Linked DNA regions of Homo sapiens: all the other regions are linked to region 5. The links are contacts of gene promoters, found by promoter capture Hi-C in human tissues and cell types (Jung and others, 2019). All regions are on one chromosome and are shown on one strand. The core of a region is centred on a gene start or on the middle of the fragment in contact, and the rest is flanking DNA. Distances in the headings are between cores, read along the strand shown. Region 1 overlaps FKBP4 (FKBP prolyl isomerase 4). Region 2 overlaps ITFG2-AS1 (ITFG2 antisense RNA 1). Region 3 has its middle 17 kb from the start of CACNA1C-AS1. Region 4 overlaps TSPAN9 (tetraspanin 9). Region 5 holds the start of TEAD4 (TEA domain transcription factor 4). Region 6 overlaps NRIP2 (nuclear receptor interacting protein 2). Region 7 has its middle 6.1 kb from the start of LINC02371.

Region 1 (3,687 bases), core at 130-2,629, 150 kb after region 5:
TCTCTTGAGCCCAGGAGGTCGAGGCTGCAGTGAGCTGTAACTGCATCACTGCACTGAGCCTGGGCAAAATAGTGAGACCCTGTCTTAAACAAACAAACAAACAAAAAAACAAAAAAAAGAAAAAAAAAATAGGCTGGGCGCAGTGGCTCACGCCTGTAATTCCAGCACTTTAGGAGGCCAAGGCGGGTGGATCACCTGAGGTCAGGAGTTCAAGACCAGCCTGATCAATATGGCAAAACCCTGTCTCTACTAAAAATACAAAAATTAGCCAGGCGTGGTGGCGTGCGCCTGTGGTCCCAGCCACTTGGAAGGCTGAGAGAGAATTGCTTGAACCTAGGACGTGGAGGTTCCAGTGAGCCAAGATTGCGCCACTGCACTCCAGCCTGGGGAACACAGCAAGACTCCATCTCCAAAAAAAAAAAAAGAAAATAAATTAAATTAAAAAAATTGGTAGTGTTATTTAGCACAGGATAAATTAATGTTTTTATTATTTCTAGGTTTTCTAACTGGGGATAGTTAATGCATCCACATCATCTGAGGTTGGCAAACAGCTGGGGAACTGTAGCCATAAGGCAGCAATAATGAATTCCAGAAAGAGAACAAATTTTCCTTACTTACAATGTCCAGACTCTTACATTGGTTGTATTCAGCACTGCCCTTAATGCATTGTCGTTTCAACTTGTTTTAAGGTTCTGAGGTGTTTTGCATTTGGAAAGGGAAAATTAGTCACTGAGACGTAACAGGAATAAGGTTTGAGAAGTTCTGCTTTCTAACTTTTTCCAGTAATGACATTTTCTAAAAAGATACTACACTTTACTAGTCCTGCATAAAGTGCCTTTCACATATTTTTTCTCCAATGGAAATGGAATACAGTCCTCCATTCACCCTCAGGGTGGCGAAGCTGGCATAGAGTGAGGGCAAGTGTTAAGTGCACTTTGCCAAGCCTTGCAGGGTTTTGTGGGCCATGATAAGGATTCTTTAGCCTAAATGGGATGGGTAATCATTGAAAGTGATTTAAGTACTCGGAGGGACACGATTGGGATGCAGTACAGAGTGAACTGCAGGAGGGGCAGGAGGGAATCCCAGATAGGAGCCTGGGATTTGCAGGAGAGCAGGCTGGAGTGCATGGTGATGGGAGGGAGCGGTACTAGTATGGAGGGAGTAGAAATACTTGGGAGATAAAATTCATGGAACTCGATGTTAGAACCAGCACTAGGGCAAGATAAACCCTATTTTAAATTTTTCTAGAGACCACTTGCAAAGCTTGTTAAAAGCTCACAGTACTGCTTGCTACTAACTTTTCTTTCTTCAGGCACATTTCTCTGCATATAGAAAGATTTAAGTGTCGGTAGGCAGGGACAACTGACTGGGAAATGAACTTGTAGCACTGACCCAGGGCAGACTTGAGTATGTGGCAGGATTATTTTTAGGCTGAAAGACTTGTAGGCATTTTAACAAAACATCCTCACTAGACAGTTTTAATGTTACATAAACTAAGACTTATCTCTAGATGTTCCACGGTTACATGCAGTTTTACATTCTTGGAATCCTACAGGATGCAGAGCTGGAAGAAACCTCAGGAATGCTTTCGATTTTGCAGATGAGGACAGAAGCCCAGGACTTGCCAAAGGAACCTCATGGGAGAGTCTGGATTAGTTCAGAGACCTCACCTTTCCATTTAACTTCTGAGTCTTGGTTTTCTTATCTGTAAATAGGGTTATTAAAGTTATACCTTCTTTGTAGGATGGTTGCAAGGATTCAGTTTCACTCATGTGATGCTGTCAGTACAGTGCTAGGCTTACTCCATAAATGCTTGAGTTAGTGATTATTGTTGGCTGCAGGCGTAAGAATCTACTACTTTTGAAATACCAAGAGGACCCAGACACAAACCACAAACACAGGGCTGTGATGTGAGGTAAGCCCAGTAAGAAAGCAGTTACACAGGGACTTTTTTAAAAAAGAGATGGTCTCACTCTCTTGCCCAGGCTGGCGTGCAGTGGCACAGTCACAGTTCTCTGCATCCTTGGTGTCTTGGGCTCAAGGGATACTCACACTGGGAGACTTGTACACCCCAATTTTAATCCTGGCTCCAGCATCAGCTGTGTTGTATGACTTGGTGAAAATTTTCACACAGAAATACATCTTCCACCATTATACATTTCTTCTGGAAGGAACTATACAGGCATGTGGCTAAGCAGACAACCACATCGCTGTTGGGAAAGGACTGGAGAGCTCACAGTAGGAGAGAGGGATGAGGGCAGACACGGGCTCTGGCCTGGAGCCAGGATTATCTGGAGGCAGCTCAGCATGACTGGCTTGTGCTGCCTGGCTTCTCCCAGGGCCCCATCATGCCATAGGAGTTAAGGGTCAAAGCATAGTTAGAAAAAAAGCACAAGCCTTTTCCTGTTAAGGCTGAGAAGGAAGCTGGACGTGAACACTCTGCTTTACTCTTAACCTTAATCATGTAAGTTATCTGACAGGAGGAGGTCAGTGACACCAGGAGTTTTACCTTGTTAACAAACCAAAATGCAGATACCTCTGCCAGATCAGAGGTAGGCAGAAGACCAATTCCAACTTCAAAATGAACATGCATGGTGTCCCAGTCTTCTAGATCTTTATACTTTCGTCTTCCTAAGTGTCAGGGAAGAAAACCAGAGGCACTAAAACTGCCAGGTTGCTGGAGGGAGGGAGTGCTGGGAACCTTGGGCGAAGCCATAGACACAAATCCCAGCGGCAGCCTGTGCAGTGCTCAGGAAGCCATGCATGGTGGGGCTGCTTCCTGCCCAACTATGGCATCTACATGAGATGCTCACTTATTTAAGCTCAACTGGAACTAAGTGGGTGACCCCTTGATTGTGCTACTACCCATTATGTACCCACCCATACCCACCACTCCAAGGCTGAACAGAAAGGGTTGTCTGACACCCAGGTTTTATTGTTTCCACTTTATTGCTCAAGCATGGAACTTGAGGCAAGCCTGGACCTTCAGCAACGTGCAGAGAAGAGGCTGAGGGGATTTTGGGACACAACCTGGCCGAGAGGGGAAACTGACAGGGGAAATACCAGAACAGGGAACAGGGGGTGGTCACCATGACACCAGAAGACATCATCAGCCACACCGTCGGGGGTGAGGAAGGGAACAGAGAGAAGAAATGGCATAGCAGTGGTTTTTCCCATGTCCCTAGCACCCACATGGAGGCCACATTTGGAAATGGACTGGGAGAGGGAAAGGATGAGGAAAACGGCTGCCCAGGAGTCTCCCTCTCCACCCTGGGTTCTTATCAGACCTCATCCCTACCACTTGCCTCTTCTACCCTTAGAAAATGGACCTAACAGAGGGAGCAAAATAAATTAACATTCTGATGAATATATATGGATGGACATATGTTCATGTGCAATGGAGGAAGGGAAGAGGGGCTGACACCAGCTAAAATGATTCCCCACCTCAATCCCCCAGCCTACACCTTTCCCCCTTCCCCTAAAGCCACCATCCAACCAGATAGAAAAATAAAGGTCTAATTCACTCAAAATTCTTCAGTTTTTACAAAACTAACAGGGTGGAGTGGGGAGACTGGGGGGCAGGCAGCCGCAGGAGTAGGGCTGGTGGAGAGGGGCTATGCTTCTGTCTCCACCTGAGACTGGCTCCCTGCCGTGTTGCTCTTCTGCTCCTCCTTCATCTCTGTGTCA
Region 2 (4,079 bases), core at 1,152-3,651, 170 kb after region 5:
CACCGTGTTAGCCAAGATGGTCTCCATCTCCTGACCTCGTGATCCACCTGCCTCGGCCTCCCAAAGTGCTGGGATTACAGGCGTGAGCCACCGTGCCCGGCCTCTACATACTTCTTAAAACATTTATTTATGTTAGTGATTTTAGTCCCATTTTCATACAATTTAAAAATAGTAGGCCCCTATGTGAGGCCTGTGCATAGTGAAGACCTGCGTGAAGGTTAAGCTCATGGGCTCTGGATTGGATTCTCCTGGATTCCAATTCCAGCACAAGCTCTTTACCTGGATTCAAATCTCAGCTTCATCATTGAACTCACCGTGTGAGTCCTGGAGGAAGGTTTCCTTGTCCCTAAAATGGCTGTCATGATAATGCCTTTCTCTCAGGGGTTTTCTCTGAAGATTAAATGGGTTATTTATTTTTTGGAGACAGGGTCACACGCTGTCGCCCAGGTTGGAATGCAGTCGTGCATCACAGCTCACTGCAGACTCCGCCTCCCAGGCTGAAGCAAATCCTTCCACCTCAGCCTCTGGAATAGCTGGGACTACACAGGCACAGACCACCATGCCTGGCTAACTTAAAAAAATTTTTTTTGTAGAGATGGGATCGCCCTGTATTGCCCAGGCTGGTCTTGAACTCCTGAACTCAAGTGATCCTCCTTGGTCTCCCAAAGTGCTGGGATTACAGGTGTGAGCCACTGAGACTGGCAATGGGATATTACATGTGAAGTACCTGAACTTGTATATGGTACACAGGGCGTAGGTGAGTGGTAGTGTGTGTGCCACATTTCAGCCTGTTGATTGCTGGAATATGCAGTTGTGTTTTTTGTTTGTTTGAGACAGGCTCTCGAGCTCTGTCACCCAGGCTGGAGTGCAGTGGCGTGAACATGGCTCACTGCAGCCTCAATCTCCCGAGCTCAAGCAATCCTCCTACCTCAGTCCCCCAAGTAGCTGGGACTACGGGTACATGCCACCACACCCAGTAATTTTATTTTTTGTAGAGACGGGGTCTCACTATGTTGCCCAGGGTGGTTTCGAACTCCTGAGCTCAGGTGATCTGCCCGCCTCAGCCTCCCAAAGTATTGGGGTTACAGACATGAGCCACAGGACCCGGGCCTTGGAATACGCAGTTGAAGATGTGGAAGACTCCAGCCCTGAAGTTGAAAGCCACTGGTCTAGATAAGGCTTTGCTCCATTAGTTCCAGAGGAGTGCTTCTCTTCTAATGTTAAATTACATCTGTGCTTTATGCACCTGGACACTTGACTATGAACTTGACTATCTCATGTAACTCACAGTAGCTTCACCTGCTGATATTCTGTCATTCCAACAAGACTGAAAGCCCCTTAAAGGTAGACTTGGTGTCAACACTTCCATGAATCCCACCATTAGCTGATCTCCTTGAGAGGAGGTAATGGGATATTTGGTGGTTGTCCTGCTGAAACAAAGCTTGTTTCCTTTTATAAAATCTAATTTCTTCCTTCTGATAAATACGCATATTTCTGTTTTGCTCTTGGGGAGATAGGAAGTAGCAAATCTTCATCCTACTGTATCTGTGGATGCACTGAAATTTGGCTTTGGCCTGGATCTTCAGAGGGTCAAATAGCCAAAGGTTGATTTCAGCATTATTTCTGTCTTCCTTGAACTTGTGTGTGATCAAGGATCACGTGGCCGGGTGCAGTGGCTCATGCCTGTAATCTCAGCACCTTGGGAGGCTGAGGCAGGAGGATTGCTAGAGGCCAGGAATTCAAGACCATCCTGGGCAACATAGTGAGACCCTGTCTCTACCAAAAACTAAACACAAAATTTTACATATGAAAAAGCATCATGTATGTGTCTAGGTTATTATCATATCTAATTAGCATAACTAGGACATGGATTGCCACTTGGGAAAAATAGTCTGAACGTCCATCATCCTCAGTTGAAAGTAAATGTATATTTAATATCATAAATGTGCACTGCAGTGATCACAAGAGCAATCCAGCAGCTGTCATTATTGAGAAATTAAGACATCATTGTTCCTTCACTATAACATCCAACTTCTATGATCAGTCTGCTAACTTTTAAAAAAGGTATGAATTGTAATAGGAACAATAATTTATTTGAGAGTTCATATTTATTCTTGTATCCTGGAAGTTCATTCTTTGTTGGTAATAGTTTTTGTTTAGTCAGATATTGACTTAAATATGTGTCCCTTTAGCATTTAGCCAAAATGTGTATTCACTGTATCTCTGAGTCTCACTCTTCACATAGGCTCACAGATGAGATGTTACGTAGCCCTTCTCTCTACGAGTAGCCTCCTCTGGGGGAGTTATTTTGGTTTTTCGTTGGGTTTACCTCCTCAGGTTTAATTTTCTCATGGGAAGAAAGGTTGCTGGAAGCCCTGGCCAGGGGTGGGGATTCTCACATAGATTCCTGGATAGACCAATCTGTCCCTCGTTAGACTCATACGCCCTTGGAGAAGAGGGGTATCTTTTTTTTTAAGGGGCCCTTGTTTGCTAGGGGCTTCATTGATTAATTATGTGGCACCCCAACCATCCTCTCTTTCCTTTCCTTGAGGGGAAAATGATGGAGAACGTCCCACAGCCCCTGTCCTCAGGGCTTGCCCCCTCCCCCCGCAAATTTATACTTCCTGTAGATGGCCAGCCGGTGGAAAGATGTTTATTGAGCACCTACTAGGTTCCTAGGTCTGTACCAGAGGCTGTGGAGTGCAGAGTCTGTGACATAATCTACCTTCCCTTAAGGAGCTTGCCTATAAAGAGAAGTAGAGCAGAACCCAGGACTAGCCAGTGTGGCACAGTTTCAAAGTGCAGAATGGCAGCATCTGGAAAAAGTATTCTGGGAAGTCCTCACAAAGAGCTAGAACTTGAGAAAGAGCTTGAAATATGGAAAATCATATTTACTTACTTTTAAAAGGACAAAACATATATCTTAAATGTATAGCTTGATACATTTTTCCATATGTATGTGTCCACAAAACTGTCACCCAGATGAAGATGTAGAAAATGTCAGCACCCTTAAGGCTCCTGGATGTTCCCTCCCAGTCAATCGTCATCTCCAATAGTAACGACTCTTCTGACCTTTGTCATAATAGATTAGTTGTATCTGTTTTGCACATCATTCAAGAGGGGTCGTACAGTATAGACTCTTTTATGACTGTCTTCCTTCCTTCCACATTATGTTTGTGAAATTCATCCATCTCGTGGCAGACAGGAGTAGCTCATTACCTGTCACTGCTTTGTAATCTTCCATGGTTTGAACACCCCACACTGTATCCATTCTATTGTTGATGACATTGGGGCTTCCAGTTTTTGGCTATGATGAATGAAGCTTCTCTGAATATTTTTGTACATGACTCTTGATGAACATACGTGCTTATTTCAGTTTGGTAGATACCTAAGAAGTGGAATTGCTGGGTTTGGGTGTTCCTTATATTTGGTTTTGGTAGATACTGACAATTGCCTGCAGTTGTGGTTCAGGTTACACTCCCACCGAATGTGTACAAGAGCACCAGTTTGTCCACACTCTTGCCAACACATGGTATTGTCAGTCCTTTTCATTCTAGTGCACCTGGGGGATGTAGAGCTAGATACATAATACATAATCTGTATTTTCTCGATAGCTAATTAAGTTGAACAGTTTTCATATACTTATTGGCCATCTGGATAGCCTCTTTTGTGAAAGACTTGTCTAAATCTTTGGTCCATTTTAAAGGATTTTGTTGGCCAGGCATGGTGGCTCACACCTGTAATCCCAGCACTTTGGGAGGCCGAGGCAGGTGGATCACCTGAGGTCAGGAGTTCAAGGCCAGCCTGGCCAACATGGCGAAACCCCGTCTCTACTAAAAATACACAAAATTAGCTGGGCATGGTGGCAGGCACCTGTAATCCCAGCTACTTGGGAGGCTGAGGCAGGAGAATTGCTTGAACCTGGGAGGTGGAGGTTGCAGTGAGCCGAGATCACGCCACTGCACTCCAGCCTGGACGACAGAGCGAGACTCTGTCTCAAAAAAAAAAAAAAAATTAAAGAAAAAAGAATTTTGTTGTCTGGTTATTAATCTGTGAGATTTCTTGATATATTATAGATA
Region 3 (3,733 bases), core at 812-3,311, 250 kb after region 5:
TCCAGCTTTGTTGTTTTTCAAGATTGTTTTGGTTATTTGATGTCTGTTGAGATTCCATATAAATTTTAGGATGGGTTTTTCTACTTCAGCAAAAAGTATCCTTAGGACTTTTGGTAGTTATTGCATTGAATCTTCAGATCACTTTCAGTGGCACTCACTCCTTAATAATATGAATTCTTCTAATCCACATACATGGGGTATGTTGCCATTTATGTCTTTCTTATTTCTTTCAGCAATGTTTTGTAGTTTTCATTGTATAAGTCTTTTATCTTCTTGGTTAACTTAATTCCTAAGTACTTTAATCTTTTTGATGCTACTGTAAATGGAATTATTTTCAAAATTCCTTTTTCAGATTTTTCATTATCAGTGTACAGAAATGCAACTGATTTTTGTGCTTTGGCTTTATATGCTGTTATTTTGCTGAATTCGTTTATTAGTTCTAACTTTTTTGGTGTCTGGAATCCTCAGTATGTTCTACATAGAAGATAATATCATCTGTGAACAGAGCTAATTTTACTTCATACTTTCTAATTCAGATGACTTTTTCCTTTTTCTTGTCTAATTGCTAGGGCTAGAACTTTCAGTACTATGTTGAATAAAAGTGGTGAAAGTGGGCATCCTTGCTTTGTTCCTGATCTTTGAGGGAAAGCTTTTTGTCTTTCATCATTGAGCGTGGTGCTCACTGTGGGCTTTACATATATGGCTTTTATTATGTTGAGGTAGTTTCCTACTATTGCTAGTTTGTTGAATGTCTTTATCATGAAAGGATATTAAATTTTGTCAAATACTTTTTCTGCACCAATGAAGATGATCATGTGTTTTCCCCTTTATTTTATTAATGTGGTCTATTACATTGATCAATTTTCATATGTTGAACCATCTTTGCATTCCAGGAATAAATTCCACTTGGTTATGGTGTATAATCCTTTTAATATGCCGCTGAATTTGGCTTGCTAGTATTTTGTTGAGGATTTTTGCATCAATGTTTATAAAAGACAGTGGTCTGTATTTTTCTTTTCTGGTAGTATCTTTGTCTGGCTTTGGTATTAGGGTAATGCTGGCCTCAAAGAATGAGATAGGAAGTGTGCTCTCCTCTTCAATTTTTTTTGAAAGAGTTTGACAGGTATTGATGTTCTTTAAATGTTTGGTAGAGTTTGCCAGTGATGCCATCAGGTTCATGGTCTTTCTTTATGGGGAGATTTTTGATTATTGATTTAATCTCCTTACTAGTTATAGCATGATGTGGATTTTCCAGTTCTTTGTAATTTAGTCTGGGTGAGTCTTGTTTTTCTAGGAATTTGTTTATTTCATCTAGGTTATCCAATTTTTTGGTGTACAATTGTTCATAGTACTCTTATAGTCCTTTTGATTTGTGTATAATTGGTAGTAATGCCTCCACTTTCATATCTGATTTTAGTAATCTAAGTCTCCTCTCCTTTTTTCCTTGTCTGTCTAGCTAAAACTTTGTGAATTTTGTTGATATTCTCAAAGAACCAATTTTGGTTTCATTGGTCCTTCTCTATTGTTTTCCATTCTCTATTTCATTTATTACTGTTCTAATTTTTATAATTTTCCCTCCTTTTTGGTTAATTTGTTCTCATTATAATTTCTTAAGTTGTAAGGAGAGGTTGTTAATTTAAGATTTTTTTTTTTAAATGTAAGAACTTATAGCTATAAAATTTCTCCTTAGCCCTGCTTTCTCTGCATTCCATAGGTTTTGGTATGTTGTGTTTTTGTCTTCATTTGTCTCTAACTATTTTCCAATTTCTCTTGTGATATCTACTTTTTTGATTCAATAGTTAAGAGTGTGCTGTTAAATTTCCACAAATTTGTGAATTTTCCAACTTTCCTTCTATTTTGGATTTCTAATTTCATCCTGCTGTGGTTGGAGAAGATACTTTGTATGATAACTTTTAAAATCTATTGCGATTTCATTTGTGGCTTAACATATGGTCTACCCTGGAAAACGCTCCATGTACTCTTAAGAAGAATCTGTATGCTTGTGTAACTGAATAACGTTTTCTGTATGTCTGTTAGATATAGTTGGTTTATTGTGTTAAGTCCTCTATTTCCTTATTTATCCTCTCTGGTTATTCTATCTATTATTGGCACTGGAGTATTGAAATCTCCAATTGTTATTGTAGAATTGTCTATTTCTCCCTTTGATTCTGCCTGAAGTTTTTGTTCCACATATACTGATGGTCTTTTATTAGGTGTGAAACTGTTTATAATTGTTATAATTTCTTGCTGTATTGAACCTTTTATTAACATATAATGTCTCTTGTAAGCTTTTTAAAATGTAAAGTCTATTTTTTCTCATGTTAGTGTAGCCCTTCCTGCTCTCTTTTGGTTACTATTTGCATAGAATATCTTCCCTATCACTCTTAGTCTGTTTTTGTGTCTTTGGATCTTAAGTGAGTCTCTTGCAGACAGCATATAGTTGGCTCATATTTTTCAATACATTCTGCCAATCTCTGTCTTTTGATTTGACAGTTTAATCCATTTAAATTTAAAGTAATTACTAATGAGGGACTTACTTCTGTTATTTTGCCATTTGTTTTCTAATACCTTCTTTTGTCCCTCATTTCCTATATTACTGTCTTCTTTTGTGTTGAGTTGATTTTTTTGGGAGTAAAGCACTTAAATTCCTTTCTAATTTTCTTTTGTGTATATTCTATAGCAACTTTCTTTGTGGTTACCATGGGGATTGTACTTAAACTCTCAAAATTATAACACTGTAATTTGAATTTATACCAGTTTAGTTTCAATAACATAAAAACTCTGCTTCTTTACTACTTTGTCCTCAGCCCTTTGAGTTGTTGCTGTCCCAAAATTACATCTTTATACACTGTGTGCTCCAAAACACAAACTAATAATTTTGGAAAATGCATTAGTCTTTGAAATTATGTAGAAAATAAAATGTTGAGTTACAAACTAAAGTTATAATAATACTACCTTTTAGATTAGTATTTTTTAAGTACTAGTCTCTTAAATCAAGTAGAAAATAAAAAGTGGAGTAGAAAAGAAAAAGCAGAGTTATAGTTGCCCATGTATTTAACTTCATTGAGATCTTTTATTCTTCATACAGCTTCAAATTACTGCCCAGTGTCCTTTCATTTCACCCTGCAGGAGTGAATTTCTTGCAGGGTAGGTCTAGTGGTAATGAACTCCTTCAGCTTTTGCATATCTGGGAATGCTTTAATTTCTTCTTTACTTTTGAAGGACAATTTTGCCACATATAGAATTCTTCTCTGACAGTTGTTTTTCTCTCTCTTTTAGCACTTTGAAAATACTGGCCTGCTGCCTTCTGGCCTCAAAAGTTTCAGGTGAGAAATTTTCTGTTAATCTTGCTTAGACTACTCTTGTGTGTGATAAGTCACTTCTCTGTTGCTGCTTTTAAGAGTCTCTCTTTATATTTCAAAAACTTAACTATAAGATGTCTTAGTATGGGTCTTTTTCATCTTACTTAGAGTTTGTTAAGTTTGGATATTTATATTCATGTCTTTAGTCAAATTTGGAAAAATTCCAGTTACTATTTCTTCATATGTTATCTCTTCTCCTTTCTTTCTCTCTTATTCTTCTTGGACTTCAACAATGTGTACATTAATCTGCTTGATGGTGTCCCACAGGTCTTTTTAGGCTCTGTTTACTTTTCTCAATATTTTATTTCTGTGTTCCTCAGACTCAATAATTTTCATTGTCCTATATTTAAGTTTACTGATTCTTTCTTCTT
Region 4 (4,125 bases), core at 463-2,962, 130 kb before region 5:
TGACTCCACTTCAAAGGACACCCAACATGAAGATCGAGTGTTTGCCAGTTTCCCTGGATGACCCATCTGGGGATGAACAGTGATCTGGGAGGAGAAGGGGTCTGCACTATCTTCCAAAGATCGGTGGGGTCTATTCCTCATTATCTCTGCGGTCTATTCCTCATTATTCCTCATTACCTGTGGGGTCTATTCCTCATGCTTCTGGGCACAGGGAGGGATCGCACGTCCGCGTCCTCCCCACCTGGAACACACATACCCTCCTTGTGCCGTGGCCAGCCTTCCCACCAAGAGGTGGAGTCTGCCCGCCCCTGGAGTTCTGCTGGTCCCATGACTTGCTGTTACCAGCAATCAACAGACAATGCGTGTGTGAGGCTTCAGGGCCTAGATATTAAGAGGTCTTGTAGACTGTTTTCACCTGAAAGGCTAGTTTCCTTGACAGTGAGAAACCACGTAGCAGGGGAGCCCAGCTGACAGCCAGCACCAACCACCGGATATATGATGAAGCTTCCTTGAGCTGTCCAGGGCCTGCAGAGCTACCAGCTGACTGCTACCGCATTAATAAGCCCAGGCAAGACTGCAGAGACCAGCCCAAAAGGCTAACCCGTAGAACTGGAAGCAAAGAAAATGGTGTTTGTGTTAATCCACTATATTTTGGGGTGGTCTATGCAGCATAGACCTCAGTGATGAATGGAACAAAATCCATTCAGCAAGTCTGCGCCAACTACGGAAAAGAATAAGGTTGTTCTGAATGTACTGATGTGAAAAGATGCCTAAAGAACGGGCAAAACAGTAAGTTGAATTCAATTCTATTTATGGAAATTGAGAAGATAAATAGGTGGACGGCTGGATGCTAGTCTATCCAGAAATATCTGGAAATAATACAAACCAAAGTATTAACAGTGATTATCTCTGATGGGTAGGATTAGGGGAGATTTTCCTCTTCTATAATTTATGTAATGTTTGGATATTATAATGAGTTTTTATTATTTTGCAACAAAAAAAAGGATGCTTTTATTTTATTTATTTATTTATTTATTTTGAGACAGGATCTCACTCTGTTGCCCAGGCTGGAGTACAGCGGCGTGATCACAGCTCACTGTAGCCTCAAACTCCTGGGATCAGGCAACCCTCCCACCTCAGCCTCCCGAGTGGCTGGGACTACAGGTATGCATGCCTGGCTACGTTTTTTAATTTTTTGTAGAGTCAGGATCTTGCTATGTTGCCCAGGCTGGTCTCAAACTCCTGAGCTCAACTGATCCTCCCACCTCGGCCCCCCAGAGTGCTGGGAGTACAGGCATAAGCTACCACACCCAGCCAAAAGGATGCTTTTTAAAAAAAAATTCACCTTGAGACCAGGCGCAGTGGCTCACACCTGTAATCCCAGCACTTTGGGAGGCCAAGGAGGGCGGATCACGAGGTCAGGAGATCGAGACCACCCTGGCCAACACGGTAAAACCCCGTCTCTACTAAAAATACAAAAATTAGCCAGGCGTGGTGGCACATGCCTGTAATCCCAGCTACTCGGGAGGCTGAGGCAGGAGAATCGCTTGAACTAGGGAGTGGGAGGTTGCAGTGAGCCAAGATCACGCCACTGCACTCCAGCCTGGGGGACAGAACAAGACTTGTCTCAAAAAAAAAAAAAAAATTCACCTTGAATTCTGCTACAATCTAATTTTTCCTATAATGTCCCTTTTCTTTTTTTTTTTCTTTTTTGAGATGGAGTCTCGCTCTGTCACCCAGGCTGGAGTGCAGTGGCGCGATCTCAGCTCACTGCAAGCTCCACCTCCCAGGTTCATGCCATTCTCCTGCCTCAGCCTCCCGAGTGGCTGGGACTACAGGCGCCCGCCACCACGCCCGGCTAATTTTTTGCATTTTTAGTACAGATGGGGTTTCACCGTGTTAGCCAGGATGATCTCGATCTCCTGACCTCGTGATCCGCCTGCATCGGCCTCCCAAAGTGCTGGGATTACAGGCGTGAGCCATCACACCCAGCCTATAGTGTCCCTTTTCATCCTGTCATTCCACTGTTCAAAGACCAACACTGGCTCCCACCACCAGCCTCCCGCGCCTGAGCTGCTCCAAGCAGTATGTCAGGTGCCCCAGACAGAACAGCTCACCCTCTCCTGCAGGCCACACCTGTCCCCACCCCAACCAAGCTCCCAGCCAGCATTACAACCCCTCAGAGACCCTTCTCTTCCCTCCCTAAATCCCAGCCCTCCCTCAAGGCCCAGCCTGATCCCCTCTGAGTTTCTCAAATGGATGCCAAGAAAAAGTTCCACCAACCCTGCCCTGAATTGCATGGTCTCCAGTGTTCTCCCTGCACTGCGGGCACGAACTGCTCCGTCCAGGAGACCTTCACAGACCACCAGCTCCAGCTTCTCTGGCCAACAGTGGGGGCAGGCTGAGCCAAGACAGGTTGTTCCAGCCCCCTCCCCTCTCTGCCGGCCACAGCCTGGATGATGGGTGACAGCCAGGCCTGGAGCTTCCCCCCCAGCCCCACCCATCCCCAGCAGCAAGTCAGTGGAAGCCAATTTGAAATGGCTGCTAATTTGGAGTGACTCACACCATGGGTGATGCTGTAAGCGCCTCCAGGTCCCACATGCTGCAGACAGCACTCAAAATGGTCGAACAAATCCAAACTCTGGCTTCAAACCTAATTGTTTTCCTGGGGGACCCAATGGCTCTTCCTCACTCAGGTCTTTGCAATCTGCATGTCCAGTTTTTAAACAAAGCTGTTTAGAATCTCCCAGGATTAAGACAAGTGGAAAATTGCAAGCCCAGACCTCTACCTCATTTTCTCTAAAACAAAACATGTCATCCTGCATGTTCACACACCCGGAAAGACACAGTTCATTCAAACTCAGCTGGGCACCCTGCCCCTCTGAGCCCTCCTGTAGAGCCTGGCCCTGAGACGGGGCTGGGGACTTGCTGAGGCAGGATCTTCTCCTACTGTCCCTGGCACTGCCACCCTCAGGGCTTGTCGGAGAGCTTTGGGCCCCTAAGCCTCAGTCTCCACACTGGCAGGTGGCCAGGGGAGAGGCCGTCAGCAGGGTTCCCAGGTACCGTGTCCAGGTTTTACCCTGCCATCTAAGGGGAAGGCACTCACATCACAGGTATATACTGACATTTTTTTTTTTCCAAGATGGAGTCTTGGCTCTGTTGCCCAGGCTGGAGTGCAGTGGCCAATATTGGCTCACTGCAACCTCCGCCTCCCAGATTCAAGCAATTCTCCTGCCTCAGCCTCCCGAGTATCTGGTATTACAGGTGCGCACCACCAAGCCCGGCTAATTTTTGTATTTTTAGTAGAGATGGGGTTTCACCATGTTGGCCAAGCTGATCTCGAACTCTCGACCTCATGATTTGCCTGCCTTGGCTTTCCAAAGCGCTGGCATTACAGGTGTGAGTCACCATGCCCGGACCCTTTTCTTCTTGAGACAGGGTCTCACTCTGTCACCCAGCCCGGAGTGCAGTGGTACGATCATGGCTCACTACAGCCTCAACTTTCTGGGCTTAAGCAATCCTCCTGCCTCAGCCTCCTGAGTAGCTGGGACTACAGGCACACACTGATTACCACACCTGACTAATTTTTTTTTCTATTCTTATTAGAGACGAGGTCTCACTATGTTGTCCAGGCTGGTCTCAAGCAATGCTCCCGCCTTGGCCTCCGAAAGTGCTGGGCCTACAGATGACAGCCACTGTGTCTGGCCTATACTGATCTATTGAGAGTGCACACGTGGGCCCCTCCACTGAGTGCCAAAACAATGCAGAGTGCCCTCCCACACAAACCCATGCAAGCACACCCAACACACATGTAAGGCAAGTGTGCACATAGTCACTAACACCCACACATGTGCATGGCTGCACCCTGTTTCAATCTTGCTCTGAGAATCCCTCCCACCCCAGCTCACTTCCCTCACCTGTTCACTGTCCTCAGAGGCCCTCTCCCTGACTCTGAACCTGACACATTCCCCACATTGCAAGGGGAGGGACCAGACTGTGTGTGTTTCCAGCAACATGTGCACCCCATGATTGGAGGCGGCGTGCCTCCAAGTGTGCGCACAGCCAGGGTCACTGCCCACGAGGGCTCAAGGGGGTTGCCTCAGACACAGTTGGACCTTGTTCCAG
Region 5 (4,146 bases), core at 155-2,654:
ACCAACATCCTCGAAGAGAAACACATACTCAAGAGACGTGGCATCACACACCTACTCAGAGATACTCACTTTCAGACAGCCCCTTCTCACGCAGACATATACACACACTCTGTCACTCACGTTCAACACAAACAAATACGCCCACTGGAAGCCAAGGTGAGCCACACGTGAACAGACATCACCCACACAGAGACTCAAAGCGAGGGGGACTCGCAGTCAGGTGTCACACAGACTCAGCACAGACGCAGTCAGTCCGCGGGGCCTCAAGTGCCTCAGCACAACGGGGGAAATGTTCACTTTGGGGTTTGAAAGTTCTGCTCCCTGGATCGATCCACTAGTCCCCATCAGGAAACACAGCAGCTTCCCAAGCCCTGAGGTGTAGGACCTTTTGCAGGGGTCCCCCGACTTTCGCATCGCCTTTGCACTTAAAACAGGCAGTCCGCTTACCTCCAGGTCTCTCCCTTCCAGGCTCGAAAAGGGCCCAGCAGAAAAGAGGCATGGGTGCTGGGTCTCTTCTGTTGCCGATGCTCTCGGTTCTGCCTCTCCGGTCCTTTCCACACCGGCCTCCCTTTCCCCCAAAGTCCCGAGTGTCCACCCCCCTTACCCGCCCCTGGAGCCGCTTCGCCTCCAGCAGCCTCAGTCGCGCCGCCTCCACGTGCCTCGCTCTTCCCAGTCTCGTCCCGGGAGGGAGCTCCGCACGCACCGCGCAGACTCCTGCCCTCCGGCAAAGTCCTACCAAGTCCCCGCGCCCCAGCCTTACCGGTCCCAGGGTGCGGGAAGGTGGGATGGGTGCGCTAAGCCAGTTCCAAGGAGTCCGCCCCGAGCGCCAACTCTTCCGGCCGCGGCGATCGTTCTGCGGGGACGACAGGGCGTCAGCGCGCAGAGCCGGGCTCCGGCCGGGGCCGACGGGCGGCGCAGTGAAGGCGGGGCCGCGGGGCCAAGCCCACCCCGCGCCGACCGGCCCCGGTGCGCCCAGCGGAGCGGAGCGGAGCGCGCGGAGGGAGGAGTTTTCCCAGAATGGGACTGACGGGAAAACACGGGGATCCCTATTCCTGGAGGAGTGAGTCAACCGGGAGCGAGGAGGGGAGCGCGGGGCGGACAGGAGGGAAGCGGGAGAGGGGCAGCGAGCAGCGCCGGAGCGCGGAGGGAAGCCAGAGGTCGGGACGGAGCGCGTCGGAGCGCAGAGGTCCAAGGCGGGAACGCGGGCGGCGGAAAGAAAAGAGCAGCCGAGCACGCGGCGCGAGCGGTCGGCTGCGGCGGCGTGGGGCGCGCGGCCCGTGAGGGCGCCGGCGGGTGCGGCGGGCGCGGGCGCCTCTCACCTGGCGGGACGCGGCGGCGCCGGAGCTGCGGCCCTCCCGCCCCCTGGCCTCGAGTGTGCGAGGAGGACGCTGGAATGCGCGGAATGAGGGCTGGAATGAGATGCGCGCCGCGGCGGGAGGGAGGGAGCCGGAGGGAGTGGCGGCGGGGCCACCGGCACCTCGGGGAGGAGACTGCGCCGCGCGCGGGCGGGCGAGGGGCCGGGCCGCCGGGGCGGGGCGGGGCCGGGCCGGGCCGGGGCGGGCGGCGGGGGAGGGGGCCGAGGGACGGCGGGGACCCCTCCACCCGGGCCTCGGCTGCGGCCCCCACGCCCACTAGCCCTTCGATCTCTCCGCTCCGACTGTTTGGCTGCTCGTTGCGCGCCCCGCGCCCTCCCCTCCTGGCGGGGTCCCGACTCCCTTTCCCAGGAGCCGAGAGCCTTCCTCTTCGCCGGGGTGGGGCTGTCCCGGGGGCGGGGGGGTGGACGGGGCCCAGACTCCCGCCCCGCCACCCGGCGTCCCTCCGCACGAGTCCCTGGGAGGCCGGGGAAGGGGCGGGCTCCCGGCGCGCAGGAAGGGCTGCTCCCTTCCTGCGGCTCCCACCAAAGGACACTTGCTCCGGGGAACCAGGAAGCAGGAACTCGCGGGCTCCATTCCCAGATCCGCTGCCAGTGCCCCCTCGCTTGCCCTCCCCGGCTTTAGCTCTTTCCGTTTTTCTCTCCTGCCCCTTGGGCATCTGTAAAACCGCCACTACGAGTAAACCACATGGGAGAAAGGGCACTCGGTTTGAAGTCCATGTGGCATGCCATGGGACGCCTTCTGGGCTCAGTGACTCAATGAATATTCATCTAAGATGTGTGATGAGTCCAGATACTGTGAAGATCAGGATCAGCCGTCAGCACCTGCCCTCAAAGAGCTCAGAGTTTAGCTGGGGAGGCCTCGGTGTATACTGCCATCGGTGAGAGTCTGGACTTCAGACACACATGCCCAGGAGTCTCTTATTGGGGCAGGAGGTGCTGGAAACACGCTGGGCTCCTTGTTTGGAGACGCTTAGGACAAACGGGCTTAAAGCAGTGTGCTGGCAGGTAGCGCCATCATCTACCTGGCCAGGAGACTGAAACCAAAGGACTTTTGGCTTTTTCCAAAAATCAAATCCAACCTTTTCTGGGGCATTATCACTTAGCCTTGTGTTGGGTGGTTGTCTAGATCTTATCTCCCTTGCCAAACAGAAACTTCCTTGAAGACAGAGTAATGTCTGATTTATCTTATCTTTCACACAGATCCAGCCTGGTGCCTGGGATAGGGAAGTGCATGATAAATGCTGCATAAATGAAAAACAATTGCTACCGTGGAAGATATTGAAAGGAAAGTGCTATCGATGCCAAAGTTGTTTCCAAGAGAGGTATTCCAAAAGTGTTTCAAGCAATGACTGAGCTAAGCATCCAGTCCTGCAAGGTGAAGGCGTTGAAGACGCAGCCCTCATTTGAATAGATGAATTGTGGTATTCTTGTTAAATAATGAATCATATCAAGGCTTGGTCACACCTCATGCACATGAAAAGACCAAAACGCAAGGCAGCATATCAGCGCCACGTGAAGTACACACTAAGCACCAACTATTTAATTCAGCAATCATGGGGGGCCCGGTGGCTCACGCCTGTCATCTTAGCAATTTGGGAGGCCGAGGCAGGTGGATCGCTTGAGCCCAGGAGTTCGAGATCAGCCTGGGCATCATGGTGGCCTGCACCTGTAGTCCCAGCTACTCAGGAGGCTGAGGTGGGAGGATAGTTTGACCCCAGAAAGTTGAGGCTGCAGTGAGCCGTGAATGCACCACTACACACCAGCCTGGATGACAGAGCGAAACCCTGTCTCAAAGTAATTAATAATAATTATATTAATTCAGCAATCATTGGAGTGTTTGTTGACTTTGACACCGCACTAAGGGAAGGAGTAGGTCCCTTTCCTCAAGTAGTTCCAGTCTAGGTGAGAAGACAGACAATTATGCAAAGTTCAATGGGAACCCAAGGGAAGGAACAGTGAAATCCAATTACAGTGCATTTGATCTAGCTCTTGAGGATAAATGAGGGTTTGCCAAACTGAGACTGGAAACCCCATTTAAGACACATGGAATAGCACCTACAAAGGTGAGGCAGCCAGTCTGCTGGTGTGTTTAGCGAAGCTATGTAAACTGGTGTGGCTGGAGAATAGAGATGTGGATAATAAGATTGAAGGAAGTGGATACCAGACTTTGAAGGTCATTGCGTGCCATGCTGAAGAGTTAGGCATCAAAAAAGACACAAGTGTGACTTAATCAGCAGCACCATCAAGAAGACCGTCTTGCAACAGTCTTGCAGTTGAACTGGAGACTCGGGGTGCCCTAAAACTCAAGCAGTGGTCCTGAGGTTGAGGAGGAGGGGAAGGAGCTAGGAAACGGTTCAGATCATTTGGCTGTGTAGTGAGAGAGAAAACAAAAATCGCTAACCTTTAACAGCTGAACAATGGTTGGTGTCAGTAAGTGAGATAAGAATTCAGGGCTGGGCACAGTGGCTCATACCTGTAATCCCAGCACTTTGGGAGGCTGAGGTGGGTGGATCACGAGGTCAGGAGTTCCAGACCAGCCTGACCAACATGGAGAAACCCCATCTCTACTAAAAATACAATATTAGCTGGGCGTGGTGGTGCATGCCTGTAATCCCAGCTACTCGGGAGGCTGAGGCAGGAGAATCACTTGAACCCAGGAGGTGGAGGTTGCAGTGAGCTGAGATCACGACATTGCACTGCAGCCTGGGCAAAAAGAATGAAACTCCGTCTCAAAAAAAAAAAAAAGAAAGAAAGAAATTCAAGCAAAAGGG
Region 6 (4,007 bases), core at 1,300-3,799, 130 kb after region 5:
CCTTTAGACTCCTGAAGAATAGCATTCATTGATATACCTTCCGGTAACATATCTTATAGTAAATACTCAATGAATGTTTGGAATGAGAAAACGATGTGTGTGTATATCCAAGCGTATATCAAAATGTCTATGTCCCAAAGTAGGTGAAGTTGTCTTCCTTTGTTTCCAATAGCGAACTTCTTGGTTACTCATATCTGAGTTTCCTAACAGGGATTCCAGTCTTCTCATCCTTCCTCTATTCCTAACCTGGAGTTTTCGAACCAGGAGGCCATCAAACTCCCAAGGATTCCTCTAAACAAACAAATCACCGTTTCTCCATTTCTGGCAGATCTTCCCCAAACTTATGAACCCATCACATATAACCACTTTTTTTTTTTCCATTTTATTTTTTGTAGAGACAGAGTCTTGCTATGTTGCCTAGGCTGGTCTTGAACTCCTGGCTTCAAGTGATCCTCTTGCCTCCAAAGTGCTAGAACTACAAGCATGAGCCACCGCACCTGGTCCACTTCCTTTTTTGATTTATTTATCTGGGAGTTCTGCCCCTATTGTATGAGTCTCATAAAAACCAGTTTTTTTGTTTGTTTTGAGACAGAGTTTTGCTCTTGTTGCCCAGGCTGGAGTGTAATGGCGTGATCTTGGCTCACCACAACCTCCGCCTCTCGGGTTCAAGCGATTCTCCTGCCTCAGCCTCCCGAGTAGCTGGGATTACAGGCATGCGCCACCACACCCAGCTAATTTTGTATTTTTAGTAGAGACAGGGTTTCTACTAAACCCTGGTCAGGCTGGTCTTGAACTCCCGACCTCAGGTGATCCACCCGCCTCGGCCTTCCAAAGTGCTGGGATTACAGGCGTGAGCTACCGCGCCTGGCCCCGATAAAAGCCAGTTTTAAAGACAGTTCATTTTCTCCACTCATTTCTAGGAGGGAATCATCAATGGGCTGGGAAACTGAAGGATCCAATTCCAACCCATTCTCCTAGGGACTCACTGATTCACCACGATTCTTCTTTCTTAGTGCCAGGACCAGCTGCTTAGAGTGGCCGTTGACACAGGCACCCAATACAATCGGATCTCTGCTGGATGTCTCAGCCGCCTGGGGTAAGAATGTGGCCCAAACAAGCAAGTGGGGGACAGGGTTTCTTTTTGGGGTGATGAAAATATTCTCAAATTAGATAGTGACGACAGTTGCATATTTTATCTCAATAAAGCTGTTATTTAACAAAAGAGTGGCTAGAAGACTCTGGCAGAGAAGGCAAGGATTTAGACCCCACGTGAGGTCAGGGGTTGGAGATGAAACCATAGTAGAGAGGGACACCTGCTGATTAATGGGGTGGAACCCTCTAGGGGCTGTGGTAGCCATAACCCTTGCTTCCCAACCACAGGTTAGAGAAAAGGGTCCTAAAAGCCTCAGCTGGGGACCTGGCCCCTGGGCCCCCAACCCAGGTGGAGCAGTTGGAGCTACAGCTGGGGCAGGAGACTGTGGTGTGCTCGGCACAGGTGGTGGGTAAGTCCCCCCTTCTGCAACAGCCCTGGTGCTCACCTCACCTTTCTCTTTGGGGTGGGGCAAAGGCTGAGACTTTCACTCCCTGCAGCACGAGGAGTTCCCAGAGATGTTCTGACTATCCCCCATCTCTGTGCCAGTGTCCTCGGATCTGGGGATGGGGTGGGCAGAGAAGGAGCAACGGCTAAGAGGAGGGCAGCAGTGACCACTGGGAACCCTCAGCCTCTTCTGTTTTCAAATTGTTCCTATAGATGCTGAGAGTCCTGAATTCTGCCTGGGCCTGCAGACTCTGCTTTCTCTCAAGGTAAGGCACCCACTCAGGGCCTGACCCAAAGCACTGGGAAAAAGTAGTAGAAGGCACAGGTGTGGAACCTGGACCAGGTTCTGATGAGAGTGACTTAGAGATGGGCAACTGTCCCTTTGCTTCCTTAGAGGTTCCTTACTTACCACCAAGTGAAAAATCAAGAGAACTGGGTCACCCCCTTCAACAGGAGTCTAGGGAAATGGGGATGGGGGAAGAGCAAAAGGCAGGTGGAAGCTGTGGGAAGTGGGAGGGGGAACAAAAGGAGCAGGCCGGGAGGCAGGTGGCGGGCTGAGGTGACCTGGCATGACTGCTCTACACCCCGCAGTGCTGCATCGACCTGGAGCACGGAGTGCTGCGGCTGAAAGCCCCGTTCTCAGAGCTACCCTTCCTGCCTTTGTACCAAGAGCCTGGCCAGTGACTGCTGTCTCAGTCAGTCCCCAGAGGGAAAGACCTTGCCTTAGAAGAAGAGGCGTGTGGGGAACGGGGGCTCTTGAAGCCAGGTAGCTGGGGACTATGGTGTCTGCCCTTCCAATCACCTCCCTGACCCCTGCTGTCCCATTTTCCCCAGCTGGCCGCATTCCTCTCTGCTTCTCAGCAGCTGTCCTACTCCCCAGGACGAGTTTTCACTAGAGGGCCCACGATGCCAGGATTCTGATTCATCTTCCTCCCAAGAAAAGCAAAGCCAAATCAAGACCACAGATAGGAACCTAAGCACAATGGGGTGCCTGCTTGGGCTGGGTCGAAGGCTCTGCTGACTGCTGTCCTTGTCCATCACCCAATACCACCCCAAACACAACTCAACTTCCCACACCACCATGTCTCTCACCACACCTTCTGGGCCTCATTATCTCCCACAACTAGACCGCCATGCCTCACCAACCTATGTCCCTGGACCTCCTGGTGTCTGCCTCTCGGAGTCTGTGCACATCTGCTCACAGTTGAGTGGGGGAAGAAACAGCCAGAATTCAATACAACAAAGAGCGGGAGTTAGTATAGGAATGTCCATCTCATAAGGCTGAGAGCTATTTTTTCCTGTGGCTGCAAATGTCTGAAGCCAGTTAGTTTGATTACCCTGTGCAAAACCTTGGACATACTTCTGCTATTAACGCTATAGGTATTTATCCGTTTCCACTGGCTTTTTGTACCCACCGAGCCCCTGAGCCTTGCGTGTGTGTGTGTGGAAGAGCCTTGTAGAGAACTGCTCCTGTGAGGCAGACAGGACAGTGAGGTTGTCACCACTCAGACTTCACCTATTCAGCATTCTTTCTGATTTCTAGAACTATCCACCTCATTAGGCCTTCTTCCTATCCCCATCTCTGGCCTCTTGAGCTTAAGCTTGTATTGTCCTGGAATCAGTGGCTTTCTAACCCCCTGCCAGGCTTTGCCAAAGCAAAAAGACAGAGGCTTTTTTTTTTTTTTTAAAGTTTGGGGTCTGTCAGGAGACAGAGGCTTTTTTGAATTCACTGTGAAGAGAAGAACCCGAACCTTAAGACGCCAGATCCCTGAGAGTCTTTCTGGCTGGTTTGAGTCTCTCAAATCATGGATTAGGAGTAAAGAAAGAGGCCAGGCGCAATGGCTCATGCCTGTAATCCCAGCACTTTGGGAGGCTGAGGTGGGTGGATCACTTGAGGTCAGGAGTTTGAGACCAGCCTGGGTAATATGGCAAAACCCCATCTCTACTAAAAAATACAAAAATTAGCCAGGTATGGTGGTGAACACCTGTAATCCCAGCTACTTGGAAGGCTGAGGCATAGGAGTTGCTTGAACCTGGGAGATGGGGGTTGTAGTGAGCCAAGTTCGTGCCATCGGACTCCAGCCTGGGTGAAGGAGTGAGACCCTGTCTCCAAAAACAAACAAAAAAGGAGCAGAGAAAGACAGTGGTACAGCTAACCTGAACAAGGGAACTGGGACCGTTGGGCTGAAACAGTCTTGAGCCTGGGGTTGACTGGGTTAGAGAAGAACCGGGATGCAAGGAGCTGCCTGTGACACCTGGCCTGCCCTTTCTCAGCTGCCTCCCCTGCCCTTTCTCAGCTGCCTCCCCTGCCCTCAGAAGGAAAGGAGAGGGCTCACTTATCACTTGTGCCATAGCACCTGGTCTCAAAATCCTAAAAGCTTTCCTCGCCCTCACTGCCTTGCTCCACAAGGTCCACTTTCCTGGGTCTTGTGCTGTGCCTTTCCTTGTCTGCCTCCTGCTGCTTCTGTAA
Region 7 (4,094 bases), core at 38-2,537, 220 kb after region 5:
TGGATATGCGTCATCCAGGAGGCCTAACAGGTTGCAGGGAATGAGGCTGATGAAGAAAAATCTGACCAAAGACCAAGATATCCCCAGGTCCTTGGAAGAGAACTGAACATGAGCACCAGATCCCACTCGACAGCATCAATATTTCACCGCACCTGGATTTATGCTTGAATCCACTGTTTAATAACTACCTGTGGCTTTCTTTCCTTAGTGCCAACTTCTCTCTCACTTCCTGGATTCAGTCACCCCCCACCAACTGTGCCTTGTCTCCTTCCCTGCTAGTCAATGAGCTCAGGCCTCTGTCCTTGATGGCTTGGCTGTGAACAATAGCTTCCTGCCTGAACTTTTGCCTTTATCCACTCAAATCCACTCACACCACAGACAGGCTGATCATGTACAATGTAGACTAGATCCTGTCACTTCCTTATTTGAAATGTTTCAGTGACTTCTATGATTTTAAGATAAACCCAAGCTTGTTAACAGGCTCACAAGGCCGACACCACCCACTCTAACCCCCATGTCCCTTGGCCTGGGTGCTTGCCACTCACCTACAAGTTTCACCCTCAGACTCAGATGCTCCTGGGTCTCTGCCTCTTTCTCTGCCCACTCCTGTTTGCTCCCACATCCTTGCCCCGGTCTGACTTTTCAGATCCCAGATTCCAAGTCACACCACCCTCTGGGGCCTTTTCTTGGAGTTGGGTCAGGCTTCATGTGTCCACGGGGCACCTGTTCCTCCTGTCCTGACGGTTACCTCACCGCACTGATTCTCTGTCCGCTTTAGGCTCTGAGCTCCAGGAGACGGTTGGCTGTGCCTACAGTTTTGTTTATCGTGGTCCCTGGCACAGCGTCTGGTCCAGAACAGATGCTCAAGTACTGGCTGAATAAATTTTCCTTTATGAATCATTTTTAATATTTCTGCTCCTATGTTCACAGAAGGCTTATTCGCAATAGCCCAAAGGTAGAGACCACTCAAGCATTCCCTGATGAATGAATATATAAAAGTGTGGTCTACTCATACAATGGAATATTATCTACCCTTGAAAGGGGATGGAATTCTGACACATGCTATGACATGGATGAACCTTGAGGGCATCACGTGAAGTGAAATAAGCCAGACACAAAGGAACAAATATTGTATGAATTCACTTCTCCTTCTCCTTCTTCTTCTCCTTTTTTGAGACAGAGTCTTGCTCTGTTGCCCAGGCTGGAGTGCAGTGGCGTGATCTCAGCTCACTGCAACCTCCGCCTCCCAGGTTCAAGCAATTTTCCTGCCTCAGCCTCCCGAGTGGTGACAGTTGCCCAACAATGTGAACATGCTTAATGCCACTGTGTCATGTTGCCCAAAATGGGTAAGATGGTAAATTCTGTGTTACGTATATTTTACCCCAATAAAAATAACTGTACTAAAACACTGTTTATGCAATTCCAAGTGACAAAACTAAAACCCCCAGGTAATACTGTAGAGAGACAGAAATGGATCAGGGTCCCCTGCTAGGGGCTGTGGTCAAGATTCCAGAGCCCATGGTGGGCAGGTCGCATAAAGGTCCCCACCATGGCTGGTCTTAATGCCACTAGATGGCCTCAGGTTACTCTTCCACCTGCTCCAGACCCAGCTGCTCATTTTTGTGTTCATGTCAACTGAGATATTTAAAAAGAACACCCAGGGCTTCATGAAACTGTTCTTAGAGTCTACTCACCAGGCTGCCTGCTAAGCAAGAGTGCCTTGAAATAGGCTTTGCTGCAGGTCCAGAAAGGAAACGTCCTTAAAGGCCCAGCAGCAGACTGTTTCCAAAGATGACCATACCTGCAGCTCCCATCTGGCAGGATTTTTGCAAGAAGATCTTATCTCTCCTCCTATCAAGGGGGAGCGTCTGTCAGCATCCCTTTCCCTTCCCCTTCCCCTGAGTCTGAGACTGCAGAAGTGAGGTTGAGTGGCTTCTGAGGCCGTGCCATGACAGAAATCCTGTCTCTGGGGACACCAGTTGCCACACAACGAAGAAACTCAAGATAAGAGATTGAGTTAGGAAGTGTCCACTCTCACCACTCCTATTTAACATAGTACTGAAAGTCCCAGCCAGAGCAATCAGGCAAGGGGTCGGGGTGGGGGGACGTGTATGGACCAGGCAGGCATCGTGTGAGTGATCCTCAGCTTAGCCCAGCTGCTGGCCACTGGGACTTCATTCAAGAACACCCAGGCTGACGCTATGTGGGACAGAGTAGGCCAGCCAGATGCAGCCCCACCTGCTGGCCCATGAATCATTAGGAATAATCCACCATCACAGAAGTGCCTTGATAGGATTTCCTGCAACTTCAGGAAGGAAACGTCCTTAAAGTCCCCAGTGGCAGACTGTTTCCAAAGATGACCATACCCGCAGCTCCCGCCTGGTAGGAGTTTTGCAAGGAGACCTTATCTCTCCTGCCATCAAGGGGTATGGGAATAGAGAACCAAAACCATGTTTTCTACCAAATGGAACACACAGAGCGTAGAACTGTATTGCAGAGCACTCTGGCACGCCCCCTCCACCTTGTATTCCCTGTGATGCTATTAAACAAGAAACAAAAAACAACAACAACAACAAAAGGATATCAGCCTGCAGCTCCTCATCCCATGCTTCACCTGTTTCGTCTCTCTGTGCAGGTGTCTGGTGTGTGTCGGTAGGCACGCACAGTTGGCCATGCTGTTTGTCAAGCATGTAACATCTGTGGTTTTCCCTTTTGACTTTATATCATTCATTTACACACTTGACAAACATTTATTGAGAGCTTCTCTATGCCCATCACTGGGGATTTAGAATTAAATGGCTACATATTGTTTTTTCACACTTTGGGCTATAATTTATATCATCATTGCCTTGAAATTGCTTTTTGAGTTAAATACAAACTGAACCAGGTGTGTCTCTCCTTGTCTTTCTAGAACTTTTAGCTCCAAAGACTTTATGGTCGCTTATACTATGATCTGTGGTATCAAACTATAAAGTAACCATTAAAACTATGGGGAAAGGAAAAGAAATGTACCATGAACCCAGTGTAATAGAATTAGTCTAACTACCCATGTAGCTCTGCTATTCCAGGCAAGATAAAAACAAAGCACAACAGTGAATTAGTCATTCACATTGCTTAATTACAGCAGCACATCACCTGCCTGAAGAAGAGGGCGGTCAGACCTCACCAGGTGGGAGCAGTTGAGGGTGAATCTGAGGTGAGGAGCTGAAGGCAGCATGGAGGCTGGTGTCCGCTCTGCCAAGGGGCTTGGCTGTGAAGAGGACAGAGAGAGAGGGTATGTTGTGGTGGGGATGGGTGGTGAGATGGGAGACACTCTTTGGCTGCAGATGGGAAGACTGTAGAGGTAGAAATTGAGAATTTAGAGGGAGGGGGCTGACGAATGGTGCAGGGTCTCTGAGGAGGTCTGGGGCTGAGAACTGGAACACCCCCTGGACGGGCCTTCAAAGAGATGAGTTGCAGTATTTCCGCCTTGTGACAAGGGGGAAGAAAAAGGAGGTTTGTGGGTTTGGAAGGGTAGAAAACAGGCGCTTCCTGGCCGGCAGTTTCTGTTTTTTCAGTTTAAAGTATGAGAGGAGATGAGAGTGTGGGAGAGGGGAGTTGGAGGTTTGAAAGAAATGGAAAAAGTGCTGATACCCTTGTGGGACCTGCTGATGGTCTATTCCAGGTCAGACTGCCGCACATCTGAATCTAGGGGCAGATGGAAGAAAAAAACAGGTCCCAACAAGAGCATCCCCAGGGCCTTCGCCCAGTCTTCAGAGCAGGCCCCTGATCCCATAAACACCTGCCTTCTAAACTCTTGGAGATTAGGCCTTCAGGCTCTCCTGCACCTGCTTTTCTGAGCGTGGTGATTCGTGGAGACTTAGAGACAGGCAGGAGGCTCAGCTCATGGGGCCGCTTGGAAGATTCTGCAGGGTGGAGCAGTTGGTGGGAGGGGAGAGGTTGTCCTTTGAGTAGGAGACCTAAGGAGGAGAGGGAACAAGAGCCAGCCCATTCTGGAGGCTGCCCCCTTGATTCCGCCTGTGATCGGCTTGAATGTGATCTGATCCTTGGGAGTAAATTTAAAATATGCCGAGTCTTAGGTAGCTTTTAAAGAG

What was found. The method cuts DNA at HindIII sites, captures the fragments that hold promoters and counts their contacts. A contact is called where the count stands out against the background at its distance.
Region 1: a contact is called between a fragment that was not itself captured here and the fragment with the promoter of TEAD4 in region 5, in 2 of the 25 tissues and cell types used here (IMR-90 fibroblasts and liver).
Region 2: a fragment that was not itself captured here is called in contact with the fragment with the promoter of TEAD4 in region 5 in 6 of the 25 tissues and cell types used here (IMR-90 fibroblasts, adrenal gland, aorta and 3 more).
Region 3: a contact is called between a fragment that was not itself captured here and the fragment with the promoter of TEAD4 in region 5, in 2 of the 25 tissues and cell types used here (dorsolateral prefrontal cortex and small bowel).
Region 4: a fragment that was not itself captured here is called in contact with the fragment with the promoter of TEAD4 in region 5 in 1 of the 25 tissues and cell types used here (neural progenitor cells).
Region 6: a fragment that was not itself captured here is called in contact with the fragment with the promoter of TEAD4 in region 5 in 3 of the 25 tissues and cell types used here (liver, mesendoderm cells and neural progenitor cells).
Region 7: a fragment that was not itself captured here is called in contact with the fragment with the promoter of TEAD4 in region 5 in 2 of the 25 tissues and cell types used here (liver and pancreas).

The regions. Positions count from the first base shown.
Region 1 is chr12:2,803,186-2,806,872 of GRCh38, reverse strand. It overlaps FKBP4 (FKBP prolyl isomerase 4), which reads right to left. Exons shown (of 10, transcript NM_002014.4): 10 at 1,450-3,687. The coding sequence ends at 3,615. The region is part of intron 1 of ITFG2-AS1 (ITFG2 antisense RNA 1); the gene reads left to right. Among named protein-coding and RNA genes, the nearest start is that of ITFG2, 7.6 kb to the left of the region's middle. The HindIII fragment of the contact is 4,968 bases long and covers 1-3,687 here.
Region 2 is chr12:2,787,680-2,791,758 of GRCh38, reverse strand. The region is part of intron 2 of ITFG2-AS1 (ITFG2 antisense RNA 1); the gene reads left to right. Among named protein-coding and RNA genes, the nearest start is that of FKBP4, 5.3 kb to the left of the region's middle. The HindIII fragment of the contact is 5,168 bases long and covers 1-4,079 here.
Region 3 is chr12:2,705,845-2,709,577 of GRCh38, reverse strand. No RefSeq gene overlaps it. Among named protein-coding and RNA genes, the nearest start is that of CACNA1C-AS1, 17 kb to the right of the region's middle. The HindIII fragment of the contact is 4,465 bases long and covers 1-3,733 here.
Region 4 is chr12:3,086,820-3,090,944 of GRCh38, reverse strand. All of the region lies in intron 2 of TSPAN9 (tetraspanin 9), which reads right to left. Among named protein-coding and RNA genes, the nearest start is that of TSPAN9, 12 kb to the right of the region's middle. The HindIII fragment of the contact is 5,075 bases long and covers 1-4,125 here.
Region 5 is chr12:2,956,655-2,960,800 of GRCh38, reverse strand. TEAD4 (TEA domain transcription factor 4) reads right to left here and starts at 1,404. Exons shown (of 13, transcript NM_003213.4): 1 at 1,320-1,404; 2 at 761-853. It overlaps LOC124902859 (a long non-coding RNA gene), which reads left to right and starts at 753. Exons shown (of 2, transcript XR_007063159.1): 1 at 753-1,060; 2 at 2,576-3,203. RefSeq lists an enhancer at 499-1,234. The HindIII fragment of the contact is 29,957 bases long and covers 1-4,146 here.
Region 6 is chr12:2,825,421-2,829,427 of GRCh38, reverse strand. NRIP2 (nuclear receptor interacting protein 2) reads left to right here. Exons shown (of 6, transcript NM_031474.3): 3 at 1,014-1,096; 4 at 1,381-1,502; 5 at 1,751-1,803; 6 at 2,129-4,007. The coding sequence ends at 2,221. It also overlaps a transcript of ITFG2 not described here. Among named protein-coding and RNA genes, the nearest start is that of NRIP2, 7.6 kb to the left of the region's middle. The HindIII fragment of the contact is 4,824 bases long and covers 138-4,007 here.
Region 7 is chr12:2,731,928-2,736,021 of GRCh38, reverse strand. No RefSeq gene overlaps it. Among named protein-coding and RNA genes, the nearest start is that of LINC02371, 6.1 kb to the left of the region's middle. The HindIII fragment of the contact is 3,130 bases long and covers 1-2,852 here.